Regions from separate parts of the Homo sapiens genome. Here regions 2, 3, 4, 5 and 6 are each linked to region 1. The links are contacts of gene promoters, found by promoter capture Hi-C in human tissues and cell types (Jung and others, 2019). All regions are on one chromosome and are shown on one strand. Each heading gives the region's core, a stretch centred on a gene start or on the middle of the fragment in contact. The rest is flanking DNA. Distances are from core to core; before and after follow the strand shown.

Region 1 (4,723 bases), core at 855-3,354:
GAAGCCGACCTGAGAACCGTTCGGGTATAATAAATTACTATAAAGTGATTAGCCACCTTTACAGCCACTCTCTAAAACATATGCTATCATAGTTTTCCCCTAAGGCTCAGAGAGGTTAAGTTGCTTGCCCAAAGTCACACAGCAAGGAAGCAGAGCAAATGCCAAGGAACCATTTTTGTGAGAGTTTAGCAGGTACCGGCACTTTGCCAGGTGCTTCCCATATGCATTCCTGCATTTAGCCTGTATAGAAACCCCAAAAGCTGTTCTCATGCCCATCTGAAAGATAGAGAAAATGAGGCTCACAGAAGAGAAACATCAGCCTAAGTTTTGAGAAAGTTCTCAAAGAAGGATTCAGAGCCAGGCGGGGGGTCTGACAACATCCTGTCTGGCTAGGGAGGGGGCGGACCCGGGAGAGGGTGTGGCCGGGTGGGCCCCTTCACACCTGGCCCCCACAGCAAGGTGTTGGTTGCACCTTTCCCATATCCAGCTCCGACCCATTTGGCTGAGAAACAGGCTGCAGGGGATTGGGAAGGTGTCTGCTTTGCCCATCTGCTTAGCTGATGAAGAAAGTTTCTGCCAAACGTTTCCAGAGAGCCAGGCCCTGGAACTTGAGCTAGAAGTTAGAAGACTCGGGGCCTCAGTGTCCACAGCTTTGGGAATGAGAACAGCAAGCCCAGATTCACAAAAGCTGCCAGAGAGAGCAACGGTGGGGGCGCCTGGAGGGGCACGTACCAGTGTGGGTCCGGACATGGCCTTGTAGCAGCCAGGGCCTAGAGAAGGCCTTCCCGCAGGTTCCGCAGACGCAGGGCAGCGTGTGGCTTCGGATGTGCATCTTGAGGGCACCCAGGCTGAGGTATTCCTTGTTGCAGTATTTGCAGTTGAAGGCCTTTCGAGCCTGGAGATCCTTGGCCTCAGAGAGCTGGGCCAGCTGCTTGGGCACTTGGCCCAAGCCTGGGAAGGCAGCATAGGCCTCGGCCTCCAAGGAAGAGACTGAAGTAGAGGAGAAGGACGAAGGAGCCGGTGAGGGTGGGCTGGGGGGCTGGGAGCCTTTCCCACTGTCCTCATCTGACAGGGAGGTCAGCTCTGCCACCCTGGGACTCTCCTGGAGCCGAAGGGAGGCCCAGGCAATTGGCTGGGCTTGGGGCGCCAGGACAGAGTCCCAGATGAGCATTGGCAGCGAGGCGGTGGGGTTGAGGATCTCCGGAGGTGGGATGGCTGCCAGCAGGTGGGCCTGGTCGTAGGGCTGCTGGAAGGTAAACTCTGAGGGAGAAAAAGCAGAGTCAGGCGTTAATTAAATCATTCACTCAATCAACAAACATGAGCCCACCGCTGGCCAGGGGCTGGGTGGGGCCGATTCTCAATACATAATTAGATCAAAAAAATTATCCACAGGACAGACCAGGTTCCTGCCCTCCTCGCCCAGGTCACCCAATCTGAGTCTCTCACACGTAGGACCCCCAGTTGAAGGAGGTCATTTCCTGATCTCCCTCTCCTAAGTCCCCAGTCTCCAGCCTGAGGCCAGAACCCCATCATCCCAGCCCCGGAGCCACCACCCTGCCCCAATCCCCCTCCTCACACACATCTCGTCTCCCCACCCCTCCCCTCAACCCTCTGGACTCCGGACTCTCCCCAGCAGCGTCCAGAGGGCCCTCCTGACACAGGCCTCCTCTCCTTCCCCTCTTGCGGAGCTCCTCCGCCTCTCGCCGGCTACAAAGGCCCCCCAAGCTGAAGACCCCTGCCCTCTACACGGCACTCCCCCAACCACCCAGACAGATCCCCGGAACTGGGGACCCACTTGCCCGGTCTCCCGAGCCCGCAATGGTCCACAAAACATCCTGTGACTCGATCCTGGCTCAGGCAGGCCGCCTCCCTCAGGTGCCCCCCACGCAGCCTTCGCCTGTCTCCCCCAAACCTCCTGGAGCCCAGAACCCCTCCAACGCACCTGGATTAGAGTCCTGCAGCTCGCTGTAGTTAGGCTTCCGATTGGGGTCGGAGGGCTTCCTGACGAGGAAAGAGCGCGGCATAGTGGTCGAGGCACTGGGGTCGCCGATTCGCGCAGCAGTAGCGCAGAAGAACCACTCGCTAGGCCGTGCCGCGGCGCAATGAATGCAGCAGCGCCGCCAACTCCCTTAAGTACTCCGGGGGGGTGGTGGGGGGTGGGAGGGGCGGGGCCTTATCTGCCACGCCCCTTTGTCACCTCCGCGCCAATCGGAGGCTCGTCTCCGCCGAAGGCCACTCCCCGAGCAGGTGCGCCGGCTGCTGGCCGGGCTCGCGCCGCGTGGCGGTGAGAGCCCGGGCGGGGACTCCTCCGAGGCGGGGTTCGCTGGCGCAGCGCGGGTCGTCCCCGGTGCTGGGGCTGTCCGGGGCGGGACGTCGAGCGAAGCGAGGCCTCTGCGAGGTGGGACCCCGGCAGGACGCCGCGCGCCCACCGGCTCAGCGCCCGGTGGTCTGAGCGCTTCTGACGCCCCCTGGCGCTGCGCGCCGGCCGGGACACCTGACCTTCCGACGCCCGCCCCCGCCTCGGGCTTGGGAGGGGGCGGAAATTTCCTCCGCCCGGCTGGCGCCTGGAGAGCGTGGCATTGACGAGGGAAACGCACATCACTGGGGAGGAAGCGAGGAAAGGGACACCGCACGTGGCTCTCGGCGGCTTGAAATGCCACGGCCTTTTTGCAAAGCAGCCTGGCCCAGCTAGCCAAGAGCACCCGTTCCTTCCCTTATCCAGTGTTTACGGAGCGCCCAGCACGTGTGGGGCACTGTACCTGGGGCCAGGGCACAGCCCCGGACAGAACACTCAGAGCCTCTCCCGAAGGGTAGCTTCTGGTCCAGTGAGGGAGACAGACGAAGTAAACAGATAATTACAATGCAAAGGGAAGTGTGCTTTGGTGGGGGAGAGACGGGACGCGGCGACCGTTAAGAGGCGGGTCACCTGACAGGGGGTCGGGGTGACTTCCCAGAGGAAGTGAAGAATTATCAAGGGAAAAGGCCCGAGGGAAGAAGTGGCAACTGCTTCAGAGTAACTCCTAGAGAGCAGCTTCCAGGGATGGGGTGGGATGGGCATGCCCGGAGGGGTCAGATGTGCTGGGCCCCAGGGCCTCGTAGGAGTTTGGACTTTGCCTCAAGGGCACTGGGGAGCCACCGAAGGATTTTCAGCTGAGGAGGGACCTGGTTAGAGTTTCGTTGAAAAAGATCCCTGTAGGCTGGCGGGAGAAAGAAGGCATGGGCCGGGCGTGTCTCCTCACCCCGTGAAGATCCTCGATCCTGTGTCTAAAGGCTGTAACACGGCTCCATAGGGGCCCTGACTGAATGCATGTGGGGTGGGCCCAAGTGAGGGGCAGCTGCACCCCCACCCCAGCTTCCCTGGGAGGCGTACCAGGCCCGGGGGTGGCTCTGAAATAAACCTCACAGGTCTCACCGTTCTTGTTTCCACCTGTGAAGGAAGACTATAAAAACCTATAAGCACCCCACACCACCACCACCACCAACCTGAAGGGCAGAACTACTGTCTGTTTAGTCACTTGGTGCCGGGTGTGACAGCCGTGAACAAAATCGTCCTCCCCTGGTTCTAGCTGGAGAGCGGGCAGTAGGGTGGGGGACAGAGGCAGTAAGCAGTCATTAAGCGGAATACTCCCCGTCCCGTGTCAATTTAGCTCCAATCAGGATCCTTTGCTTGAAGCCAAAGTGAGGCCAGATCACCCCCTCCTCTGCTCAAACCCTCCCATGCGCCTGTCTCAGAGTAAAAGCCAAAGTCCTCTCCTCAGCCAACTCGGCCCCGCTGCTCTGACCCCAGCTGACATTGGCTTGAGCCTCTCTCCCTCCCCCATGCACAAGGATCCCACCCCCAGCCTTCCTTCTGTTCCTCCAACATCCCAGACCTTTCCCACCTTGGCACCTGCTGCTCTTCCTCCTCTCCCCTACGTCTCTTGCTCCTAGATCTTCACGCTGGCTTCCTTTCATTCTTTGTTTCAGCAGCAACTTCACTAACTGCTCAGCCTCGTTTAGTGAAGAGAGAAATGGCAAATTCAAGCCACAGTGAGCTGCCATTTCACGCCCATCAGAAGGACAACAAGGAAAAATTTGGTCACTATCAAGAGTTGATGAGGAGGTGAGAGCTGGCGAGAGGGTCGGTGGGCATAGTCACTTTGGAAAAGTTTGGCATCAGCTAGCAACAGGTGACTCCTCTCCCTGTCTGTCCTCAAGCCAACTGCATCCCAGGGGCTGCAGCTGACAAGTCTGTCCTCAAACCAACTGCATCCCAGGGGTTCTCAGCTCTGGCAGCACATTAGATCCCCACAGGGAAGGATTAAAACACCTAAGCCTCGGCCCACCCCACCCCCACCCACATCTTGATTTAATTAGTCTGGGTGGGGCCTCTGGCATCAGCATTTTAAAAAACTCCCCTGGGGATTATAATGAGCAACCAAGCAAAGTAAAGAACTGTTGTCCAGCCCAAACCCCGAAAAAACAAAAAAGGATATTCATTGTACCCTCGTTCCTAATAGCAAAAAAAGCAAAAACTAAAACAAAACTGGATACAACACAAATGTTTATAAACAGTAGACTGGATTAATGAACCCTGGTGCAATCCTGTAATAGAATACTATACAGCAATAAAAATGAACTACAACTCCATGCAGCAACAGGGATGAATCTCAAAAACACAATGTCGAGCAGAGGTCACAAACAAATGCATAGTTATTTGGATTTATACGAGGTTCTGAAGCAG
Region 2 (4,723 bases), core at 1,129-3,628, 360 kb after region 1:
TGTGCCTGCATTCCAGCCCCACATCACTGCCCCCCACACCACTCTACCCCCTTCACAGGTGCTGTGCGTGAGAGCACTCCCCAGTAAACCACCTGCGTGCCCAGCTCTCTGAGTCTGTTTCCCAGGGAACCCAATCAAAGACGCTGATCGATCAGAAGAGCGGTACAAGTAGAACACACCACTCAGTGGCAAGTCCTTTCTCCACAGATGATGACTCAGGGAAGGTCCCAGAGCCTCTGGCAGGTCACAGAACCTCTGGCAGAGCTGAGGTGACCCCAAGCTCTCCTCTTCACAGCTCTGCTCCTCTTCCACCTGCAAACCAAGAGTCACAATGGAAGGGCCCAAGGTCTGCAAAAACCAAAAGTGTGTCAGCAGGACGGGACACTGAAGAAGTGCCACTCTTAGTTGTGGGAGTCTTTGTGGCTTTGGTTGCAATTACGTGGGAGTGTGCTTTTTAGTCTGACACTGTGCTGCTCTTATAATTGGAGGATCAGGTCATTGGCATTCAAATCAGTCCCTCCCGAGAGACACTGCCAGTCTAGTTTCTGGTAAGTTTCAATTTTCCTGTTGCTGCAGAGCCCCAGCTTTACATACTTTTGAAACCTTGGCCAGGAGCAGTGACCTGAAACAGTGAAACTGCTCTCCTATTCTAAATTTGAACTGTTCAGCCCTCTGGGTCTGAAGCTTCCTGCTTTTCGCTTGCTGGCTTTTTGGGGCAGAGTGGGGCTGCTTTCACTTGCTCACTCGCTCACTCAGTCATGTATTTATTCATCAGACATCTCTGATGTTGCTGACCAAGGGCTCAATGTCTAGACAGAGAGATGAAGATGACCCTGCCCTCAAATGGCTCATGCCCAGATCAAGGAGAGAGATGGTTAACTGATCCACTTCCTAATGCTTCAGTATGAATGACTTATCTTCTCACTTATCACTCACTGCACCCCCACTTTGGAATCAGTTCAGAACGCTTTGAATGTCCCAGAGGAGAGTTTGCTGTCTATTCCATAGGCAGTGGGCAGCCAAGTTAGGTTCTGGAGAAGGAGAGTGGCATGATTAAAGGTGTACTTTAGGTTTGTTTATCTGGTTGCATATCCATCCATCCATCCCCCATCCATCCATCTATCCCATCCATCCCATCCTCTCATCCATCCATCCATCCTATCTATCCATTACCCACTCATCCGTCCATCCATCCATCCATCCATCCCATCCATCCATCCATCCAGCCATCTATCCTATCCACTCATCCATCCATCCATCCAGCCATCTATCCTATCCACTCATCCATCCATCCATCCATCCATTCCATCCATCCATTTATCCATCCACCCATCCCATCTATCCATTACCCACCCATCCGTCCTTCCATCCATCCATCCCATCCATCCATCCATCCATCCATTCATCCACCCATCCATCCCATCCACTCATCCATCCATCCATCCATCCCATCCATCTATCCATCCATCCATGTCATCCACTCATCCATCCATTCATCTCATCCATTCATCCATCCCAACCATCCATCCCCCACCCACACATCCATTCATCCATCCATCCATCTCATCCATCCCACTCATTCATCCATCCATCCCATCCATCTCATTCATCCATCCATCCATCCATCGATCCAACTATCCATTCATCCATCCATCCATTCACCCTATCCATCCATCCCCCACCCACCCATTCATCCATCCACCTATTCATCCATCTATTCATCCATCCTATCCATCCCATTCATTCATCCCTCCTATCCATCTCATTCATTCATCCCTCCATTTCATCCATCCATTCATCCCATCCATCCATCCCATCTATCCATCCATCTCATCCATCCATCCCTCATCATCCATCTATCCATCCATCTCATCCACCCATCCATCATCCATCTATCCAACTACCCATTCCAGCTATTCATTACCCATCCACCCATCCATTCATCCATCGGTTCATCTCAACCATCCATTTATCACATCCATCCATTCATCCCATCCATCTATCATCCATCCATCCCATCCATCCCATCCATTCATTCATCCATCTCATCCATCCATCCATCCATCCAATATTTATTGAGCATTTTCTATGTGCCAGGCACTGTGCTGTGTGTACCTGGTTTCCATCTAATGCACTGAATAAGAAAGATATTAAATCCCTGCCTTCATGGGACCAACATTCTGGGGAAGAGAGGTGGATAGACAATAAACAAGTCAACAAGTAAGTGAGCTCCCGACATTGCTGAGTTATGAAGGGAATAAACAGGATGATAGGGTTGAGAGTGACCAGGGTGAAGGGTGAGGTCCTTCAATTAGATGATCAGGGAAGTGATCTCTGGAAAGGTGATGGTTGAGCTGGGCTTTAAAAGAAGAGAAAGAGGCAGTTATAGGAAGAGCAGAAGGAAGAGAGTTACAGACAGAAGAAACAGCAAGTGCAAAGGCCCCTAGGCAGGAAAGAACTTGGCTTGCTGGAGAACATGAAAGGAAGCCAATGTGGCTGAATAGGAAGGGAGGAGGGAAGGCTGGAGAAGAAGATGGGGCCTTGTAGGCCAATGTGAGGACTTGGGAGTCTTTGGAAAGGCAGCCAGAGGCCACTGGAAGGTTTCCAGCAGGCAAGTGACATGTTTTGATTTATGTTTCTGAAAGTTCCCCCGGCAGCATGGGAAGCAAATGTAGCAGCAAAAAAAAAAAAAAAAAAAAAAAAACCCCAAAAAGAAACAGCAAGGAGGTCAAGGGTGAGGACGGTAGCAGCCTGGACCAGGGTGGTGGCCATGGGGTTACAGAGAAATGGAAAACTCAGGACAAATTTTGGAGGTGGTGGGAGGGAAACAGAGGACTTGAGAATGATACGTCACTTTGATGCTTGAGCTACAGGGTGGTGTCACTGAGGAACAAAGACTGGAGAGTGCGGAGATAAGGAAGGAGGAATGAAATAAGTCTTTGTGGGGAACCAGGCTGTGTTTTTAGGATATTTCAAGTAGGTAACTCGACATTCAAGTCCAGAGCCCTGGAGAGAGATCAAGGATGCTGTTGGGAGTCTGAGATGTATCAGAACACATGTTTGTTTAAAGCCACTGAGTTGGAGCTGCCAGGGAGGAGGAGGAGAGGCAGGGCCCATGGAGCATCTAGTGTCAGGAATAGAGGCTGTTTCAAGAAGGATGTTTCGAGAAGGAGAGGGAGGTCAATAGTGTCAAACGTTGCTGAGAAGTGGCTCTGAGCACGGGATCCCACACTGGGACTTGGCAGCAAGGATCACAACACCAAGAGCCATTTGGTGACACAGGGGATGAAGGCCTGCTCAAGGGCACCGAGGAGAGGGTGGCGGTGAGGAGAGGGTGGCCGTGTAGAGAGGGTGGTGGTGTGGAGAGGGTGGGGTGTGGAGAGGGTGATGGTGTGGAGAGGGTGGGGTGTGGAGAGGGTGATGGTGTGGAGAGGGTGGGGTGTGGAGAGGGTGGGGTGTGGAGAGGGTGATGGTGTGGAGAGGGTGGGGTGTGGAGAGGGTGATGGTGTGGAGAGGGTGGGGTGTGGAGAGGGTGATGGTGTGGAGAGGGCGGGGTGTGGAGAGGGTGATGGTGTGGAGAGGGTGATGGTGTGGAGAGGGTGGGGTGTGGAGAGGGTGATGGTGTGGAGAGGGTGATGGTGTGGAGAGGGTGGGGTGTGGAGAGGGTGGGGTGAGGAGAGGGGGTGAGGTGAGGAGGGTGCAGGGTGAGGAGGGTGGCGGGGTGTGAAAGTGGGTGGGGGAGTATGCACAGCTTCCACCAGAAGTTCAGCCTTAGGTGGGACGGAGGACCAGGGTGCTTGTTGGAAGATGATGAGGGTCAAGAGAGTACACTGTGCGTTTTTTTGTTCTTGTTTTTGTTTTGTTTTGTTTGAGATGGAGTCTCACTCTCTTGCCCAGGCTGGAGCGCAATGACGAAATCTGGGCTCACTGCAACCTCTGCCTCCCAGGTTCAAGTGATTCTCCTGCCTCAGCCTCCCAAGTAGCTGGGACTATAGGCAGGCACCACCACACCCAGGTAATTTTTGTATTTTTAGTAGAGACAGGGTTTCGCTGTGTTGGCCAGGCTGGTCTTGAACTCCTGACCTCAGGTGATCTGCCCACCTCGGCCTCCCTAAGTGCTGGGGTTACAGGCATGAGCCACTGCGCCCGGCCACGTTGTATGTTTTTTTTTTTAACACAGGAGATCCCGGGAGGAAAAGAAACTGAGGCTGCACAAGACAGGCAACTGGGTTCCAGTAGTACCAATTGTGTGCTCACTCTCTGTGTGACCTTGGGCACGTTAGAGGGACATTCTGGGCCTCAGGTTTTACATCCCTAGAATGGGCTCCTCGGGTCCCAGGTGACTTACATGTTGAGGTGAGCTCGTCCTGGGTGGGAGAGGTCCCCAGGACAGGGCAAGCTCCAGCACAGAGCCAGCTTCTGTTTGCGATTGTCCCAGGCTGTCCCCAAGGAGGCCATCAGGCCCCACCAGTCTCACGTTACTGCACTGACAATCCTGCCTTGCTCTGAGGTTCACAATCAGACCTGGCTGGTCCCTTGAGGCTCAGTCCTGAATGCTGCACTTTGCTGGGGGGGTTGGGGGGGGATTAGAGCTTTAGAGTCTGAGGGGCTTCCAGGTCCAGGCAGAGGCTCTGGAATGACAAGGACTTGGATTTCACCCTGGCTCTGCCACTTCCTGGCTTGGGGACCTTGAGCAAGGACTTTACCTCTTTAGGTCTTAGTT
Region 3 (4,746 bases), core at 883-3,382, 510 kb after region 1:
AGGATAAAGAAACCCAGAGACCCAGGATGCTCCAGTGACCTGCTGAGGATCACACAGCCCATCATAGCCTTTCAAATCCCCTGAGAGACCAGCTGCTAAGAGATGATCCTGGTCAAACATCCTGGAGTAACAGAAAGATCCCTGAGCCTCAGCGGGTACGGGTGGCGGGGCCAGAAAGGCCTGGGCATGGCCCCTGATCTTTCACCGACTTGCTGTGTGAATGTGAAATGCTAGGAAGAAAAAGAGATGGTCAAATGAATGGGTTGGCCAAAGCTTAACTAACTAGAAGAGAACAAGCATGCGTTAGGCACCAACTCCATACCCAGCACTTTGTGTACTTCCTGTACTTGATAATGTCATCAGGATGGGAAGCACTTGACCTTAGCACTGGATTGCCCAAGTTCAGAGTTTGGCTTCTCTACTCACTAACCATGTGATTTGGGGTCAACTATTGCAGCCCTCTGTGCCCTGGTTCCTTCAGCCAACAGCAATTTTGGGCCAATCACTGTGCCTGCCTCATTGGATTGAGTTACATGCATTAATGTATGCAAAGCACTTAGACTAGGACCTGGTATGTAGAAAGCTCTCAATAACTGTTGGGTTTTGCTGTTGTTGTTTTTTTTCTTTTTTACTGTCCTCTCATGTAATCCTCCTGACAATCCTGCAAGATAAATAAGCTCCTTTTCAAAAAACTGCTCTCATCAAATGATACCTGCTCATTGTAAGGTTAGAGGCTTTCTCTGGCCACTGGAGTCCAGTAAAGGCAGGGCACTAACACCCCAGCAGGAACTAGTGGGATACTCACCTGCCGGCTGATGGGGACGATGTGTACGTGCTTCTCCCCTGGCTGGGGGTATAACTCAGAGGTGTGTGTTCTACACTGGTCCCCAGGGCAGCTTCAGTTGCTCACAGCAATTACTTGTTTGATAACAGACCCTGTTTGACCTCTTTCCTATCCCTGTCTCATGTTCCCTCCCCTCTTCCAGAGTTTTCTGGGATCACTTATCATATAAGCCACTTGTACTCAGAACCTTGTCTTAGGATCTGAGATTCTGGGGAAACCAACCAAAGCTCTGTAGGACATATCATTTATTCAGAATGACCTGGTGTTGTATTATAGACAGCCCACCCCCGATAGAGAGAACCTCTAGGAGGTTGTCGTAAAAGAAGAAATTCTAGGTCTGGCAGGGCACAGTCAGCCTCATCTCTGTCTCTTAGATAAAATGAAAACCACAGTGGTGGCAGCAACAGCTAACACTGAGTGCTTACAATGTGCTTGCCTGGCATAGTGCAAAGGGCATTAAATGCCCCATCACATCTGATTTTCACAGCCCCCCCATAAGGGAGGGATAACTACCCTCATCTTACAGCCGTGGAAACTGAGGCTCAGAGAGGGGAAGTGTCTGGCCCAGGGTCACACAGTGAATGGAAGGCTGGGACAGATCCCACCCAGGACTCCCTGACTGCCCAGCCCATGACTTTGATCTCTGAGTTGTATGAGTGACCTTCAGAAAGTGAGAAGCAAGATCCCAGTATTCCCTTCTCATGCTGGGGCAGTGCTGAGAGGAGAGAGATTTGTCCAGAATCACCCTATGACTTAGGAGTGTTCTTAGCTCTGGATCTAGGACGACTTTACCCCCAAAGGCTCCTGGATGGGACTATGGGAGAGACAGATTTAGCATTAAGCATTATTTTAATAGATAAACTAAATGCATAAGGTCCTACCTTCTCCCTGAGGTGAAATCAACTTGATTTTGGTGTCTCCAGCAGGAGTGGGCATGACTAGGTGGGGCCAGAAATGGGAGGAATCTCTCAGCCCCCGTATCGGGAGTGGGTGGGGTGGGAGCTAGAATTCTCATGTTAATATCCAGGGCGCCAATGCTCCTTAAATGTTTTCTCTGATGACATAAATAACAAATAAGATGTAATGTTGCCATGTGAGACACACTTCTGTGGACCTGGGTACAGGCCTGGATTCAAATCCCACCTCCTCTGCTTCCTGGCTATATGAGCCCCCAAGGCGCCTCACCTCTCTGAGACTGGGAGGTGGGGGTAATACCTGGGGCACACCTCACAGAGTAGCGCTTCTCCATGCTGCCTGCACATAAGGATCACCTGGGCTTTGCAAAATACTCATGCCTAGGCCCCACAGTTGAAACTCACCCCCTAAGTGGTTTCTTTTTAGTTCTGGTAAAATACACATAATATGAAATTTTCCATCTTAACCGTTTTAAAATGTATAGTTCAGTAAAGTATATTCACATTGTTGTCCAACCAATCTCCAGAACTTTTTCATTTTGCAAAACTGAAACTCTGTGCCCATTAAATTCTCCTGGGCCCACCTCCTAGGCCCTGGCAACCCCCTTCCTACTTTCTGTCCCTTTGAACTCAACTGTTCTAGGTACCTCATATAAGTGGAATCATACAGTATTTGTCCTTTTGTGACTGGCTTATTTCACTTATCATGCTGTCCTTCAGCTTCGTCCATGTTGTAATGTGTCAGAATTTCCTTCCTTTTAAAGACTGAATAATTTTCCATTGTATGTATACACTACATTTTGTTTATCCATTCCTCCATCAAAAGACACTTGGTTGCTTCAGCCTCTTGGCTATTGTGAATAATGCTGCTATTCACATGGGGTACAGATATCTCTTAGAGTTCATGCTTTCAATTCTTCTGGGCATGGATAAGCAGAAACCAACTAGATTTTTAACAATTCTTTTGGGTATATACTCAGAAGTGGAATTGCTGAATCATATGGTAATTCTATTTTGAATTTTTTGAAGAACTGCTGCTCTGTTTTTCATAGTGACTGTTACCATTTTACATTCCCACCAATGGTGTACAAGGGTTCCAATTTCTTCCTATCTGTATTAGTCCATTTTGCATTGCTATAGAGAAAAACCTGAAGCTGGGTAATTTATAAAGAAGAGAGTTTTATTTTGGCTCACAGTTCTGCAGACTGTACCAGAAGCATAGTGCTGGCATCTGCTTCTGATGGGGCCTCAAGAAGCTTACAGTCATGCAGAAGGCAAAGGGGAAGCACGTGTGTCACATGAAGAGAGAGGGAGCAAGAGAGAAGCCAGGCCTTTTTAAACAAGCAGATCTCACAAGAACTCATTACCGTAAGGAGGGCATCAAGCCATCCGTGAGGGATCCACCCCCATGACCCAAAGACCTCCCACTAGGCAGGCCCCTCTTCCAACATTGGGGATCACATTTCAACATGAGATTTGGAGGGGACAAATAGCCACTATATCAACATCCTTGTCAATGCTTGCTATTTTTTTGTTTACGTTTTTTTTTTTAGTAGCTATCCAAATGGGCATGAGGTGGTATCTCATTGCAGTCTTGGTTTGCATTTCCCTGATGTTTAGTGACGCTGAGCATCTTTTCATGTGTTTTTTGGCCATTTGTATATACTAGCACCCCCTTATCAGGATGCCTAAACCTCGGATAGTACCAAACCCTGTATATTATATGTTTTTTCCTACACATACATACCTATGATAAAGTTTAATTTATAAATTAGGCACGGTAAGAGATTAACAACAAAAACTAATAATAAAATAGAATAATTACAACAAAATACTATAATAAAAGCTATGTGAAAGTGGTCTCTCTTTCTCAAAATATCTTATAGTATGTAATACTTTTGGACCACAGCTGACTGCAGGTAACTAAAACCTTGGAAAGTGATATTGCTGTGATAAGGGGGGACTACTGTATTTTCTTTGGAGAAATGTCTACTCAAGTACTTTGCCTATTTTTAAATTGGGGTTTTTGTTGTTGTTGTTGTTATTGAGTTGTAAGAATTCTTTATATATTCTGGATATTAATCCCTAATAAGATATACGATTTGCAAATATTTTCTTCCATTCCATAGGTTGTCTTTGCACCCTGTTGATTGTGTCCTTCAATACACAGAAGTTTTGTATTTTGTTGAAGACCGAGTTGTCTGTTTTTTCTTTTGTTGCCTGTGTTTTGGTATTATATTCGAGGAATCTTTGGCAATAGGGGGAAATCATAAAGCTTTTCCCCAAATTTTTTCTGAGAGTTTGACAGTTGTAGTCTTATTTTAGGTCTTTGCATGTGGTGTGTAAGATAAGGAACCAACTTCATTCCATTGCATGGGGATATCCCCATTTTCCCCACACCATTTGTTGCCCTGGGTGATTCTGCACACGGCCAGGAAGCCCAGCCACAGAAGACAACATGGGATGGCGGAGATCAGAGGTGCTAAGCTGTGGAGCACCATGTGCAGTGCTGGGAACAGAGGGAGTCGCCATCTGGGGCAGCTGCTGTTATCATTGTTGCCAGGATAAGGGGCAATCTCTGACACACCCAGCATGGCTCATCCCTTCCTCTTCCACTCAGGACGGCTTGGCAGAATGCAAGTGAGAGAGTGAGATGCAAGTGTGAGTGACGTGTCTAGGTTGTGGCCACTTCTTGCCACCCCACTGCTGCCTTCCTGACCCTATCCTCTCCCTCCTGTACCATTGCAGGAGCCTCTAGTCCCATCTGCTGCCTCCAGCCTCCCATCCCCCGTCTGGTCTCCACACACAGCAACTCACGCCCCCGCTCAAAACCCTCCTATGGCTCCTGCCTCACTCCGAGAAAAAGCCCAACTCCTCAGTCCCACTCACAGGGCCCATTATCTGGCATCTTTCCCCTTTTCCCAGCACCCTTACAGCCTCCTTCCCTACCACTCTCCCTCTCCATCACTCTGTTGCATCCACAGTGGC
Region 4 (5,088 bases), core at 794-3,293, 280 kb after region 1:
GACAGGTCTCAATTTATTTAGAAGTTTATTTTACCAAGGTTAAGGGCATGCACCCAGGCCCAAGGTCTGTGCCTTTCTCCTAAGATGATTTTGAGGGCTTCAGTATTTAAAGGGGGAGAAATTTTAGGAAGGCGTGGTAGATAGGAGGCAAATGGTTACATTCTTTTGAGTCTTTGATCAGCTATTCACATGTGGCGGGCAAGGGTGGGGGGCAGCGGAGGAATAGTCCCTTATGCATTCATCTAGCTCAGTGAATCTGCATTTTTACATAAGACAAAATATACTTACCGGGCAGAGGAAGTGATGAGATTATGCATTTGTCTCAGGTAAGCAGAGGAATGACTTTAAGTTCTGTCCTTTGTCCTATACCTGTGAAGATAAGCTGTCAATTTACGTTGTCAGGGTGAAATTCAGCAGAGTGGTTGTAGGGTAAGGATGTTGAGGTCCACAAGGAATTTCCTATTGGGCAGATTGTGAGGGAGGTAGGTTTGCATGATGCCGTTCCTACCTTGACTTTTCTCTTTGACTTAGTGGGTTTGGGGTCCCCAAGTTTATTTTCCTTTTACATTGTTATTCATCTTTTACTGTGCCTAATTTATAATTTAAACTTTACCATAGGTATGTGTGTATAGGAAAAAGCAATGTATTTAGATCTGGTACTACCTGCAGTTTCAGGCACCCACTGGGGAATTTCAGAACGTATCCCTTGAAGATAAGGGAGGACTGCTGTATGATTCATAGCACAGTTTCAGATTAATCATGTCCGATGCAGTCAGATGCTTGATGGTTATATGGGGCCTGGTTTGTGGGCAAATGACTAGTGGGGTTTTTTTTTTTTTTTTTTTTTTGCCCATTTAGGATTCAAGATGGGTTTTAACCTTTTAAGTTACAATTAAGCACTTTGTGTCGTACAGTATGTATACAATAATGCTTTGAAATGGCTAGTCATGAATGTATTAATGGTTTGTCTTGCACTGAAACCTGAAATGTAGATGAAAAAGTTGATAAACATAAGGCAATCAGTACTGATTGTCATTGTCATCTACCCCAGTACATTCTAAGTGTGGTAGATACAGTAATTCTTATATGTTGCTATTAACGTCATTTCTGATTTTTGATTAGAAAAATATTTAGGTTAATGGCTTTCTTGTTGGTTTCAAATTTATAGTAAAAGCTATACCTTTATGTCTTGAATCTGCTTGCCAGTCTTTGCTTTGATAGGTGGTTTTTGCTTAGGCTACGATAAATTGTTTCATCTTTTCTAAAGAGGGATGAGGAAGTATTTACTTTGTGAAATTGGAAAACCGTGTGGTTGGTGTGGAAAATAAGCATGTTATTAATAAACAGCTAGTCTTGTGCTCCATACTCTTGGATGTAAGGTAGAAATAACCTTGCCTCTATTGCTGAGATTTAAAAAAATAAAAAGCTAGGCTACTACCCGTGCCTTCCTCGTCCACAACACAGGCACAGGGTGGCAGGTAGTGATGAGAAACAGGCTGCCAAGATGGTCCCTGGATGACTAGGAGGTGTGTGATGTGCGTCCAGTTGTCTGGATGGGGCAACTGGAATCCTTCATTGTGTGGTTCATGCTTGTGTGTGTGTGTGAATGCGAGAGTGGGAGGAAGTTCAATGTTTTGGCTTTGGTGTGGGATTAATTTTCTCTTCGATTGTTAATTTGGCATACCTGACTTTTTCATTCTGGTTTAAAGTATTAGAAATCTTAAGATTTGTGTGAATTAGAAGATTGGGATTTATTTGAATTTCATTTGGCACTAGGGAAAATTCACTTTAGGTAAGAGCTACTTTTTGGGTTGGCTTTATGTTCAAAGCAGTTTTTTCCTTAAGAGTTTCATTTTATTATGGAAATTTTCTTTTTTCTTTTTTTATTTTTTTGAGATGGAGTTTTGCTCTGTCCCCCAGGCCGGAGTGTGGTGCCACCGTCTCGGCTCACTGCAACCTCCACTTTCCAGGTTCAAGCAATTCTCCCACCTCAGCCTCCCGAGTATCTGGGATTACAGGTGCGTGCCACCATGCCCGGCTAATTTTTGTAGTTTTTACTAGAGATGGGGTTTCGCCATGTTGGCCAGGCTGGTCTTGAACTCCTGACTTCAGGTAATCTGCCTGCCTCTGCCTCTCGAGTAGCTGGGATTATAGGCATGAGCCACCGCGCCCGGCTGGAAATTTCCAAACATATAAAAGTAAACTTAATAGTACAGTATAATGGACCCCATGAACAAAAGTAATTTTTCTAACCTCAAAAGCAGGGGCAGTTTATTTAATCAGGTAAAAACTGAGCCTTAAAAGTCAGACTTTGCTAAAAGAAAACAGTATTTTTTTCACTGTCCTGAATATAACATTAAGGAAATAGGATTTGGTTAGGTCTAGATAACATTTAATAATTTCAACTGTGTTAAAGACAAAAGTAATTTTTGATGTGACCATGGACTTGTCATGAAAAATATAAAGGTGAAAGGGATTCCATCCCCCTTCCTCTAAACAGAATGGAACATAAGCACAGGTTTAGGCTAATTCATAACCTGGATTTTTAAAGCTTTTACATAGTTGGGTTTCATGTTGTTCAGATGTCTTACTAAACCAGGTATCTAAATGAGTGTTTTTCTGTTAAAAAAAAAAAAAAAAGGACATGTCCCCTTCCTCTGCCATCCCTTAATCACGGGGCTCCACTGGAATAGAGATGGGCGGATAAAGAAGGAAACTTAGTGTTAGCAGCTCCAGTGAACTGGTATGAGGTAGAGGAGGGTTGAAGCCATTGATCACAGTGACGTTTCCAGAGGATTTAAGCTTTCCCATTGTCCCATCCTTCATTTGAACCCTCAGAATGTACAGCCAGAAGTCCAAGAGCAAGCGTCTCTGCGAAGGGTAAACCTTCCAGGCTGTGCTCCCTCAAAGGCGCCGCTGCGCTTGAGGAGCAGGTGCTGTGGCTGCTGAAGTCAGGTGCTCTGGGAGCAGACAACAACTGCCTGGGTGTGTAGCACCTGTGTCCTTTTGGCTCCCCTGGCCTTGTCTTCTGAGACTCTGTTGTTAATTTCTTTAGCTGTTTATGTCAGCTTTGACCAAAGCCCACTGCAAAGCTTAGAAGGGTAAGGAGGCAACAATATCCCTTTGAAGACTTATTTTGGCACAGATTTTGTGATTTGTGAATAGTAACATTCCTCAGTAGCCACAAATTAAACAACATCGATCTAATTTTGGTATTAATTAGTTGTATAATTAAAATAGTAAAACCATCTGCATAGATTGAAGCTATAGTTTCAGGTTGTATTATATGTGTGAAAAACCGACTCTTCATTGTGAATTTTGAGTAGACTTCCCAGTAGATTATTTATGTAAGCTGTGTCATCAGAAACATTCCAGAATGAATCACGTTTAATTAGGATCTAACAAATGTTACCACCTTTGTTCTGTTGAACAATATTTTTAAACCATTAAATCAACTTGGTTGATAAAAGGAAATTGCAGTAATTTATTCATAACCCTTTCATCACAAGTGTTTTCACTTGTGTCCTTGTCATTGTATACACAGATATTTGAAAATTTTGCACCTCAGGAATTGCTGGGCTGGGAGAAAAAGGATGGCAGCAATTTAAATCTGTATTTGTGCTAGAATAATCTTTTACAATCTCTTTGCTATAAGATCTTTTCCTGGCCAGTTCTGTTTTCCCCACTATAACGAAACATCCTGTCTTAATATAAGATTATTTCTGGCAAGGGATTCTTGAAAGCTGTAAAGAAAACATACCTGCTGTCTTTACCGATAATGTGGAAAACTTCATGGGAAATTCTAGCCCCTTCGATGTCAAGTCTATTTAATCTCATTCCTTTACTATTAATAAATTTAAATAGATGAATTTCAAATCTCATTAAATGTTACAACAGTATGTCTAATTAGTTTTTTTCTTTCTTTGATTGGATTCCACAAAGTAGAATAAAGCTCTTCTCAGAAACCTGTTTGGACTTAGTAATTATTTTTCTCTAGATTGTTATTTTTTCTCTAGTTTGTCAAGAGTGAGTAAACTTTGAATGATTGAGAGTCTGTTATGACATAGGTCAAATCAATTGAGCAGGACCAAAGAGTTGGGCTACCCTGGTCACATTAACTATATACATTTACTGCGATTATTTCCATTGTTTCTTCATACACAGCTGTGTGACACAGCGTGCCTTTTGCATCGGTAAAGGAGTTAAATCTGTAGTTAATTTGTGTGGCATTCTCTAGGCTGAGCCAGGCTTTCTTAGCCCTTTGGAAGATCCCACATGGAAGCATTAGACATAATGAAAACTCAGCATATTTCTTTGCTTCTGAGTTGTTGGAAATGATTAGATTGAAACTCAATGTGTTGTTTTCTTTTCCCACCCCCACCCTTTAGAAAGGTATCTGTATGTACAGAATGGGAATATCATTAATGTCATGCAGTTTATTCTTTTCTACAAAGGTGATTATATTAAATAGTTCTGCTATAACATGGCATAAGCATTTCTAACAGTGACCACACTGGCCGGGCCCGGTGGCTCACACCTGTAATCCTAGCACTTTGGGAGGCCAAACACCTGAGGTCGGGAGTTCAAGACCAGCCTGGCCAATGTGGTGAAACCCCATCTCTACTAAAAATACAAAATTAGCCGGGCATGGTGGCATATGCTTGTAATCCCAGCTACTCGGGAGGCTGAGGCAGGAGAATCGCTTGAACCCGGGAGGTGGAGGTTACAGTGAGCCGAGATTGCGCCATTGCGCTCCAGCTTGGCGACAGAGCAAGACTCCACCTCAAAAAAAAAAAAAAATAAACCACAACAGACTGTCATGATAGGTTCACTTCACCCTGTGGTTAATGAGTTAATCCATATAAAGCAGTGGTCTCCAACCTTTTTGGCACCAGGGACCAGTTCCGTGGAAGACATTCTGAAAGGGGCTGGGGATTGTGTAGGGGGTTGTGTGTTGTGCCACTCCAGCCTGGGCAACATGAGCAAAAGTCTGTCTAAAAAAAAAAAAAATTACTGCACTATGCCAGATTGTTCAATAAAAGCCATAGAGATTATGAAAAATTGGAGTTAGGTGTGCAAAAACTGCAT
Region 5 (5,100 bases), core at 305-2,804, 410 kb after region 1:
TGCAAATATGTCTTCTCTCTGTAATTCTTCACTATACCTCCTCTGTTTCTCTGAACCAAACGAGATCCAGGAGAGCTTCTGCTGCTAATCGTATTCACCCAAGCTTCTACATTCATTTTTATAAAGAAGGAACATAACTTTCATCTCATGGCAAGCCCTCATCCCTAGGAAGTGTAGTTTTGCTGATGCTTTCTGAGATTTGCTATCACTGAGCCCACTCACCACTCCCATGTGGCTTCTGCCCTGTCTTAGCTGCTTCACACGTACTCTGAAGCCGATGAATTATATGTCTCTCCTGGCTTTGCTAAAAATGGAGTTTGTGGTTTGGTTTTGTATATTTGTTTTTCCATTATTCTTGATGCTCTGGTATAATTTCTAGAAGGAGAGGGTAAATGTGGCCTTAGGCAGCCATTTTTCTACCCCCACTATCTAACTGGATCCTCTTTAGTAACTCCTTGACATAATAAGCAAAGCAGCTATGACTGCTGTCCCATTTTCAAGATGAGAAGCCAGAAGTTCTGAGGTTCTTGGGGTGCTTCAGGGTGGCAGGAGCATCATCACTCAGGGTCTGTCTGGGTGACAGATCAACATGGGTCTCTTTTCTCCTTGCCTTCCATGCTAGGCTGGCTCTCAGGCAGGACAGCAGGGAGTTGAGGAGACTGAGGTCTGACTTCATCATTTTTTCCACTACAAAGTGCCAAGGCAGCTGGTTGGGAGCCGTGAGGCCACCTGTCCCCCGTCCTGGGAAAACCAAAGGATGAGAAGCTTGCTGGAGTCCCTCTCCTGTAGCACCCACCACCTCTGGCAGATAGCCTGGGAAGAGGGGCAAGACCACTCCAGAACATCCTCTCACAGGCTAAGACAAGGTCTAGGTGGAATTAGCCTGGGAACGCTGAACGAAAGGCCGCCTGGCCCAGCCATGTTTGCATCTGGGTAGCTGCCCCACCTCTGGGCTCTTAGCCAAGCACATTCCCTACATAATCCTGGCTCTCCTGGGGAAGGATGCTGGAGGATGGCTCCCCTGCAGCTGACATCCTTGCACTTTAGAGACCTTCAAATCTCCAAAGGCCCAGGCCTGTGCAAATTCTTAGAGACAGTCAGCAGCAAGGCCCAGATGGCAGAAAACAGGTCATTTCTTCCAACCCTCTGCCTCTGATTCAGACCTGCTTTCTCTTCATGTATAAAAAAGACCAAGTGAAGAGGTTTTCTGTCTTTCATTTCTTCAGTAAAATTCTTGATAAAGAGGCCTGCACAGTGTTGGCAAATAAATACTTGGTAATATGTGCTGAAAGAATTATGCTTCATCTCTTTTGTTGTTGTTGCTGTTGCTGCTGCTGCTGTGTTGTTGTTGTTGCTAAGACAGGGTCTCACTCCGTCGCCCAGGCTGGAGTGCAGTGGCACAATCTCGGCTCACTGCAACCTCTACCTCCCGGGTTCAAGCAATCCTCCCACCTCAGCCTCCTGAGTAGCTGGAATTACAGGCGCACGCCAGCATTCCTGGCTAATTTTTGTATTTTTAGTAGAGACGGGGTTTCACCACGTTGGCCAGGCTGGTCTTGAACTCCTGACCTCAAGTGATCCACCCATCTCAGCCTCCCAAAGTGCTGGGATTACAGGCGTGAGCCACTGAGCCCAGCCTTGCTTCATCTCTCTTTCTTTTCTTTTTTTTTTTTTTTTGAGACAGAGTTTCACTCTTTTGCCCAGGCTGAAGTGCAGTGGCGCGATCAACCCCCGCCCTTCTGGTTTCACATGATTTTCCGGCCTCAGCCTCCTGAGTAGCTGGGATTACAGGTGTCCCCTACTACACCCAGCTAATTTTTGTATTTTTTAGTAGAGACGGGGTTTCACCATGTTAACCAGGCTGGTCTCGAACTCCTGACCTCATGATCCTCCTGCCTCAGCCTCCCAAAGTGTTGGGATTACAGGCGTGAGCCACTGCAGCCGGCCTAGCATCATCTCTTTTATTAAGTGCCTACTGCATGCACTAGACACAAGATCTTCTTGAATTCGTCCAACCACCATGGGAGGGGGGCCTTGTCGTCATCATCCTCTTGTACAGATGTACCAAGGCTCCAAGAGTAGAAAGCAGCCTATTCTAATTTAACTGGTACAAAGAACATTCAACCAAAAGGATTCTAAAAAGTTCAGAGATAAAGTATACATTAGTCAATTCTTGTTGCTTAAGAAGATCTCAAAATCTCCATGACTTGTAACAACACGTACATTTTTCTTCTTCGGACCTCTGCAGGTCAGCTAGGGGTTCTCTACTTCAGGCTGCAGGTTGAGCTCAGGTTTGCCCTGTGGGTCATGGCTCAAGGCAGAAACCAAGGTCAAGTGGAAATATGTGATTCCTCGTGAAACCTCTGCTCAGAACTGGCAACTGGTCATTTCTTCATCCTCCACTGATCAAATTGAGTCACAGGCCCGAGTCCACCATCACTGAGTCAGGGAGATACTATTCTCTGCTCATAGTGGGAGGCACCGCAACCCTGCAGCCAAGGGCGTGAATGTCTAATTCTGATACAGGGAGTGGGTAAAAATTGGAGACTATGATCTAATCTACTGCAGCACAGTTCCAGGGGTGGCTAATTAATTGTGTGACTTAGCAAAGATTCTCCTCAGGCTCCAAGGTGGCTGCCACAGCTCTGACCCAATCTCTGGCCACTCACACGCTACGCTGAGGTGTGGTGATAGCGTGACCAACCTTCCTGGTTTACCCAGGACCGAGAGGTTTCCCAGGATGCAGGGCTCTCAGTGCTAAAACTGGGAAAGTCTGGGCAAACCAGGATGCGTTGGTCACTTGACGTGTGTAGCAGATTGTTTCTGAACGTTTGGGGGTAACTGGGGCAACATGTGAGTGTGTATGTGAGAGTAGTGCATGTGTGTGTGTGCGTGTGTATGTATATGAGTGTATGTGTGGTGTTATTCCACAGCCCAAGACAGCAAACAACTAAACACTCAGTATGACACATCACCAATAGAAATGGTCATTTATTGGCTCCTAATTCCACAGAGGATGTCACACTGGGACAGGCCCCCAATCTGTGCTCATGTCGGCCTGGTCTTTGCCCCCTCTTTCAGGCTGCCCCCTAAAACTCTGTTGTCCTTCCTTAATTCTACAGAGCAATTTTGTTCAACATCCCAACTCCAAACCTATTTTACATACCCCAAATGTTTAAACCACTGGCCCTTGGCACAACTAGACTGCAGGGCTAAAAATCTGGGGGCAGGTGTGTGCTGTTGGTCTATGCAGCGTTTTAAAATAATTGGAGCCATTATTTCTGGCTTCTCTTGAGTCTAAAGATCTGGCCACACTAGGCATGTATTTCTACGTGGCTTTAGTTGGCTGGTACTGCCAGAAGCTGCTTCCTTTTGGATGGGGCAGCCCTCTCTAGTTTTCCATTGTTCCCATCCCTCCCTGTTGCCTTCCTGATATGACTGGCTCACTTCATTCATTTGCAATACTTGCTCGAAGACTTGAGTTTACCACTCTCTCTTTAGCAGCACAAAAACACCAGAAACGTTGCGGTTTGGGTCTCTCCTTCCCCTCCACCTCTCAACCTCGTTTAGCTTCTGTAAGTGGAAGAATTTATTCTTGCATTGTTCCAGTTTTAGACGGCAGCTGTGCTTCCTTTCGTAGCTGCAGCAGCCATGAAAACACACCTCTGGGACCTCCCTTGGTGGAGCCTGATTGACAGATATGCCATGCTTCCCAGGGTTTGCTCCTAGCCAATCACTGGGGGAAGCAGACTTGTTCTTGGGAGACATAGGGCTCCTCAGGAGGCTCAAGGACAACCTGTTAGCCTTGAACTAACTTACTTACTTTCTTTTTCTTTCTTTCTTTTTTCTTTTTGACAGAGTCGCTCTGTCACCCAGGCTGGAGTGCAGTGGTGCGGTCTCGGCTCACTCTAATCTCTGCCTCCTAGGTTCAAGCAATTCTCCTGCCTCAGCCTCCCAAGTAGCTGGGATTATAGGTGCCAGCCACCACTCCTGGCTAATTTTTTGTATTTTTAATAGAGACGGGGTTTTCACCTTGTTGCCCAGGCTGGTCTTGAACTTCTGACCTCAACTGATCCACCCACCTCAGCCTCCCAAAGTGCTGGGATTACAGACATGAGCCACTGTGCCCGGCCAGACTTGACCTTTCTAAGAATGCACTGCAGCCCACGGTCCCTTCTTTCCTCTGTCCCTTCCTTCCATTTGTCCTCCTTTCTGTCCCTTTCTCCCAGCCCTCTCTGGCTCCCTCTTCATTTTACTCCCTGGCACTCCCTCAATAAGCCTTTAGTATATCTCATCTCATCTTGGCTCTCCTGGAGAACCTGCTCCTAACCGATTTGGAAAAATCAAAAGGTAGAGAAAGAGAGGGCTTCCAGGCAGGTAAACAGCATGAGCAAAGGTGTGGAGGTGGGAAGGCCCAGGGTGTGTTTGCAGCACCAGGGAGTAAGTTAGCTTGTCCTAAGAAGCCATCAAATTCCCATGCTCTAGCTTATCAAAGGAAGTACTACGTGACCTTGGGTGAAGTGACTCTTTCTGGACCTTGATTTCACCATCTGTGAATTCGGAATAATTTTACTACCCATTTTATAGGTTCTTTGTGGGGAATAAATAAATTATTATGAAAAAGTGTTTCAGATGGCTTCAGTTACTAACTAAAGTTAGAACTATTGTTACAAAAAAATATTTAAAACTGCCCCTCTCTGTTGAGACTGGTTTTTAGCCTTGAAGAAGGCAATACACATAATATTTTCCTTTCCGGACACAGTTTATTTGTAGCCTTTAGGATGCAGACATGAATCAGACCTGATCCTTGGAAGAGAGAAAGCAGGGGTGTAGGGTAGAAGGGCTCCCTTTCCCAGGCAAAATTCCCTGTGTTCTAATTGGGTTGGGTCTTGACATTACTCTCACAACCCCACAGTGGCCACAGAAGAGAGCAGAGGCTTGGTGAGATGGGAGAGTTGCCTAGATGTCTTGTTTCTACTGGACAGTGAACATCTGAACACACTGAGGCTCCTACAGGGAAATGTCTGGATGTTCGTCCCTGGGAGAATAAATTTTCCCGGGGGTCCAGTTTCCCTTCCCCAGAGGAGCTTCCCTTCCCCA
Region 6 (5,115 bases), core at 105-2,604, 350 kb before region 1:
ACCCACCCGTCCATCCAAATATCCATCCAACCATCTATCCGTCCATTCAGCTGTCCATCCATCCATCCATCCATCCATCCATCCATCCATCCATCCACTCATCTATCCACCCACCCCTCCATCCAAACATCCATCCAACCATCTATCCATCCATCCATCCATCCATCCATCCATCCATTCATTCATCCATCCATCTATCCATCCACTCATTAATCTACCCATCCATTCATCCATCTATCCCACCCTTCCTCCCTCATATCATACATCCATTTCTCCACCCATTTATTCATCCATCCATTCATCCACCCATCTATCCATCCCACAAGCACATATTGAGCATCATGGAGGCCAGGCCCTGGGTTGGGCACTGGGGATACAGCTGTGAACAAAGTCTCTGCTCTCATGGTTCTAATATTCTAGGCAGGTAGTGGACAAAAAGAAACTATATAAATACGTAATATAATGACAGAAGGTGATAAATGCTAGGAATAAAAATAAACCTAGGTAGGAAAGCAACACGCAGAGCCACTATAGATGGAGTGGTCAATGAAGACAAGAAATGATAGGCTAGATCTGGCAGGGGAATAAGTACAAGGGCCCTGAGGCAGGATTGAGCTCAGCATGTTGGAGCGACAGCCTAGAGACCAGTGAGGTCATCATGAATGGAAGGAAGGGGAGGGGAGCAGGGGGTAAAGCTGGAGGGGCTCTGGGAGCAGGAGACCCAGCTCTGTATAGTCAGAGGATGGTTCCTCTCCTTCTTTGGACCTTGGTCTTCTTATCTGTATAATGAAGTCCTGGGTGAGATCATCCTTTCCTATCTGAGGCTCTGGCATTTAAAAAAGATGGTCTTGCTCTTTCCTGGGGATCTATAGGAGCAGGGTCTAGACTGTAAAGGTAAAGAATGCAGGCTCTGGGCAGGCGCAGTAGCTCATGCCTATAATCCTAGCACTTTGGGAGGCTGAGGCAGGCAGATCTCTTGAGCTCAGGAGTTTGAGACCAGCCTGGGCAACATGGAGAAACACCCTCTCCACAAAAAAAAAAAAAAAAAAAAAAAGCAAAAATTAGCCTGGTTAGGTGGTATGTATCTGTAATCCCAGCTACTCAGGAGGCTGAGGTGGGAGGATGGCTTGAGCCCAGGAGGTAGAGATTGCAGTGAGCTGAGATCATGTCACTGCACTCCAGCCTGGGCAACAGAGCCAGACCCTGTCTCAAAAAAAAAAAAAAATACAGATTCTGAAGTCAAGGCATTTGATCTCTCTGAGTCTCAGTGTTCCCAACTGCAAAATGGGAATAATAATACCCCTTCATGGAGTTCTTAGCAGGATTTGATGGGATGGTGCCGGTAAAGCGTCTATCCCTGACACCTTCCTCCCTGGCCACTGTTATATAATTAGGTAAAACAGCAGTGGTAGCTTCTATTGATCCTCAACTCAGAGGCAAAGTGTACAGAGCCCTCAGATGCCCCTCAGTGGGGATACTGGCCTTGGCTGGCAGGGCAAGGCTGGCACAAGCCTGGGGGCTGGGTCTCCAATGTTTGGCTCTGATCATAAGGGGATTTCTGTGGGGGAGTGCAGATAGAGCCCTTTGAGCAGCTCAGAGGCCTCCTTCCTGTACAGGCAGCTCTGCACCAGCACACAGCTGGATTCTCGTTCAGTTATACCACGTCCAGTGCTGTGGCCTTGAGTTGTGTGTATCCCTCTCTGAGCCTCGGTTTCCAAGTCAGAAGCTTGCTTGGGTTCTCATCCCAGCTCATCTGGTCCATTCCTGCCTCAGGACCTGATATGATTTGGCTGTGTCCCCATCCATATCTCATCTTGATTTGTAGCTCCCATAATCCCCATGTGTAGTGGGAGGGATTCCGTGGGAGGTAATTGAATCATGGGGTTGGGTCTTTCCCATTCGGTTCTCATGATAGTGAATAAGTCTCAAGAGAGCTGATGGTTTTATAAAGGGCAGTTCCCCTGCAATGATCTCTTGCCTGCCACCATGTAAGACGTGCCTTTTCTCCTCCTTCACCTTCTGCCATGATTGTGAGGCCTCCCCAGACCTATAAGTGGAACTGTAAGTCCATTAAAGTTCTTTTTCTTTGTAAATTACCAAATCTTGGGTATGTCTTTATTAGCAGTGTGAGAATGGACTAATACAGGACCTTTGCATGTACCGAGTTGGTCCCCACTCTTCCAGCTCCTTGTCCTCTTTCAGTGTGCTCTTCCAGCTCCTTCTCCTCTTTCAGGGCTCAGCTCAAATATCACTGCAGGGAGGCCTTCCCTGACTTCCCACACCAACATAACCCTGTCCCCATTCATACTGTGCCCCTGCACATGGCTTGCTTGCTTTCAGAATACTCCTGAACACTTTCTGAAATCATCTGCTATTTCCCTGTTTGCTTCTTTATTGCCTGTCTTCTCGACTATGATGTCAGCTCCACCAAGATAGAGACTGGATCTGTCTTATCCAGTGTCTCCAACAACTATTGCAAAGTAGGTGCTCAGTAAATATTTGCTGAATGAATAATGGGGACTTAACGACTCCTTTGGTTTTCTTTTAAAAGTTTTGCCACTTAAATATTAATTTTAATTATACAATTAACCCATTATTATATTCTTAAAAATATTTTTTACAGTTACAGCTTGTAGTTAAAATCCCCTTTGATGTCCATCCTGGACATTCCCCAAGGGGGTCATGTAATGAGTTTAGCATCCTTCCATATTTACTTCTGTGCACTTACAATGAAATGTCTACCACTGTTGTTGGTAGTGTGTGCATGTGTGTGAGTGTGCATGTATGTTCACAGTAGATTAGATAGAGCTAAGAGTTGAGAGCAACATAAACAGCTCTGGGTAATTGTGGTAGTTAAATTTTACGTGTCAACTTGACCAGGTTACAGTGTCCAGTTGTTTGGTCAAACATGAGTCTAGATGTTGCTATAAAGATATTCTGTGCTGGGCTGGTGGCTTACACCTGTAATCCCAGCACTTTGAGAGGCCAAGGCGGGCGGATCATGAGGTCAGGAGTTCGAGACCAACCTGGCCAACATAGTGAAACCCCATCTCTACTAAAAATACAAAAAAAAAATTTGCCAGGCATGGTGGCAGGCACCTGTAGTCCCAGCTACTTGGGAGGCTGAGGCAGGAGAATCACTTGAACCTGAGGGGCGGAGGTTGCAGTGAGCTGAGATTGCACCACTGCATTCCAACCTGGGCAACCCAGCAAGACTCTGTCTCAAAAAAAAAAAAAAAAAAAAAAAAGATATTCTGAGCCACGCATGGTGGCTCACACCTGTAATCTCAACACTTTGGGAGGTCAAGGAAGGCAGATCACTTGAGTCAGGAAGTCGAGACCAGCCTGGCCAACATGGCGAAACCCCATCTCTACTAAAAACACCAAAAAATTAGCCCGGCATGGTGGGGGACGCCTGTAATCCCAGCTACTCGGGAGGCTGAGGCATGAGAATCACTTGAACCCGGGAAGTGGGGGTTACAGGGAGCTGAGATTGCACCACTGCATTCCAACCTGGGCAACAGAGTGAGACTCCATCTCAAAAAAATAAATAAATAAATACAAATAAAAATAAAAGATATTTTGTAGATGGGCTCGATAATGTGTGTGGGCCTCATTCAATCAGTTCAAGGCCTTGAGAGCAAAATCCAAGTTTTTGGTAGAAGGAATTCTGCCTTAAGTGTGTATCATAGAAGTCTTGCCTGAGTCCCCAGTCTGCCGGCTTGCCCTACAAATTTCACATTTGCCAGCTTCTACAATTGCATGAGTCAATCCCTTTAAAAATTGAATTAAATATAAATAGATATACACACACGCATCCTGTTAGGTTTTGTTTCTCTGGAAAGCCCTGGCTGATACAGTAATTTAAACAGAGAAGCAGTCTATTCAAAGTACTTTATGAGGGGAAGAACAATCAATCCAATAAACAAAAATGGCCAAGACTCGAGTAGGCATTTCACAAAAGGGGATACCCAAAGGATCAATAAACACACAGAGGTGATCAACATCCTTGCTCAGCAGGGAAATGCAAATGAAAACTTTGATGAGATAACCACTGTACACCCACTAGAATGGCTAAAATGAAAAATATGGAAAATACCAAGAGTGGATGAAAATACGGAGCATTTAGAAAAAACCCTCATACATGACTGGTAGAAATGCAAAATGGTGCAAGCACTTCAGAAGACACTGGCAACTTAATAAGGTGAAACATACACTTGCCATAAGACCCAATGAGAGGACTACACTCAATAGTAGTGCAGACAGATTTTCACCAAGAAGGACACATATAAATATTCATAGCAGCCCTATTCATAAATCTCCCCTAACTAGAAAGTACCCAAATGTCCATCAGTAGAAGAATGAATGAAAGAACAGAGACACACTCAGACACTGCTCCAACTATGGAATTTTGCCTAACAATGAGAATGAAAGATCTGCAACCACACTCAACAGCATGGGTGAATCTCAAAGACTTGAACATTAAGGGAAAGAGGCCAGACACAAACAAGCACACATCATTTGATTCCATTTATATAAAGCACTAGAAATAGACACAACTCGCCTTGGTTAGCCTCGGGGAAGTCGTGACTGGAAGAGGGCATTAAGGGAAGCTTAAGGGAACTGGAATATTCTGTTTCTTGATGAAGGGCTGGTTACACAAGTGTACTCACTTATGAAGGCTCATGAAGTTATCGCTTACGACCTATGCATTTTTCTCTATGTGTGCTATACTTCAGTGAAAGTTCAAAATAAAATAAGGGATTTGAGGAGCCTGGGAGGATTGCAGAACCAGGCTTAAGGTCAGCAGGGACAGTACCCCAAATCACACACAACACTGGATCGGTGGGCCCTCTCTGCTGCCCCTGAACTATCCCTGCTTCCAGGTCTCAGTGAGCACGTCTGATCGGTGGCACCTGGGTCACGTGACCACCCCCTAGCTGCAAGGGATGCTTGGAAGAGTGAGCACCTAGCAGGTTCAACATCAGTGATGGAGGTGTGCAGACTGTGCTTCAAAAGATGGGGAGCCTCAGACCACTGCAGGGTGTTTAACCCTTCCTCAACTGATGGATATTTAGGTTGCTCCCAGTGACCATCTTGACCATACTCCCTGTG

Evidence for each region. Contacts are between HindIII fragments. The study calls those that stand out against the background at their distance.
Region 2: a contact is called between a fragment that was not itself captured here and the fragment with the promoter of SNAI1 in region 1, in 1 of the 25 tissues and cell types used here (lymphoblastoid cells).
Region 3: a contact is called between a fragment that was not itself captured here and the fragment with the promoter of SNAI1 in region 1, in 2 of the 25 tissues and cell types used here (lymphoblastoid cells and spleen).
Region 4: a contact is called between a fragment that was not itself captured here and the fragment with the promoter of SNAI1 in region 1, in 1 of the 25 tissues and cell types used here (bladder).
Region 5: a contact is called between a fragment that was not itself captured here and the fragment with the promoter of SNAI1 in region 1, in 1 of the 25 tissues and cell types used here (spleen).
Region 6: a fragment that was not itself captured here is called in contact with the fragment with the promoter of SNAI1 in region 1 in 2 of the 25 tissues and cell types used here (lymphoblastoid cells and mesenchymal stem cells).

The regions. Positions count from the first base shown.
Region 1 is chr20:49,980,361-49,985,083 of GRCh38, reverse strand. SNAI1 (snail family transcriptional repressor 1) reads right to left here and starts at 2,104. Exons shown (of 3, transcript NM_005985.4): 1 at 1,943-2,104; 2 at 733-1,260. The coding sequence starts at 2,024. RefSeq lists a silencer at 2,090-2,609 and an enhancer at 2,762-3,699. The HindIII fragment of the contact is 23,979 bases long and covers 1-4,723 here.
Region 2 is chr20:49,616,396-49,621,118 of GRCh38, reverse strand. No RefSeq gene overlaps it. Among named protein-coding and RNA genes, the nearest start is that of PTGIS, 51 kb to the right of the region's middle. RefSeq lists an enhancer at 223-292 and a silencer at 423-472. The HindIII fragment of the contact is 7,433 bases long and covers 1-4,723 here.
Region 3 is chr20:49,471,136-49,475,881 of GRCh38, reverse strand. All of the region lies in intron 1 of KCNB1 (potassium voltage-gated channel subfamily B member 1), which reads left to right. Among named protein-coding and RNA genes, the nearest start is that of KCNB1, 9.2 kb to the left of the region's middle. The HindIII fragment of the contact is 4,785 bases long and covers 1-4,524 here.
Region 4 is chr20:49,695,128-49,700,215 of GRCh38, reverse strand. The region is part of intron 1 of B4GALT5 (beta-1,4-galactosyltransferase 5); the gene reads left to right. Among named protein-coding and RNA genes, the nearest start is that of B4GALT5, 16 kb to the left of the region's middle. The HindIII fragment of the contact is 5,555 bases long and covers 1-4,820 here.
Region 5 is chr20:49,571,578-49,576,677 of GRCh38, reverse strand. It overlaps LOC101927486 (a long non-coding RNA gene), which reads right to left. Exons shown (of 2, transcript XR_244188.4): 2 at 4,744-5,100. Among named protein-coding and RNA genes, the nearest start is that of PTGIS, 6.0 kb to the right of the region's middle. The HindIII fragment of the contact is 3,141 bases long and covers 1-3,124 here.
Region 6 is chr20:50,325,219-50,330,333 of GRCh38, reverse strand. No RefSeq gene overlaps it. Among named protein-coding and RNA genes, the nearest start is that of LINC01271, 6.4 kb to the right of the region's middle. The HindIII fragment of the contact is 9,236 bases long and covers 1-5,115 here.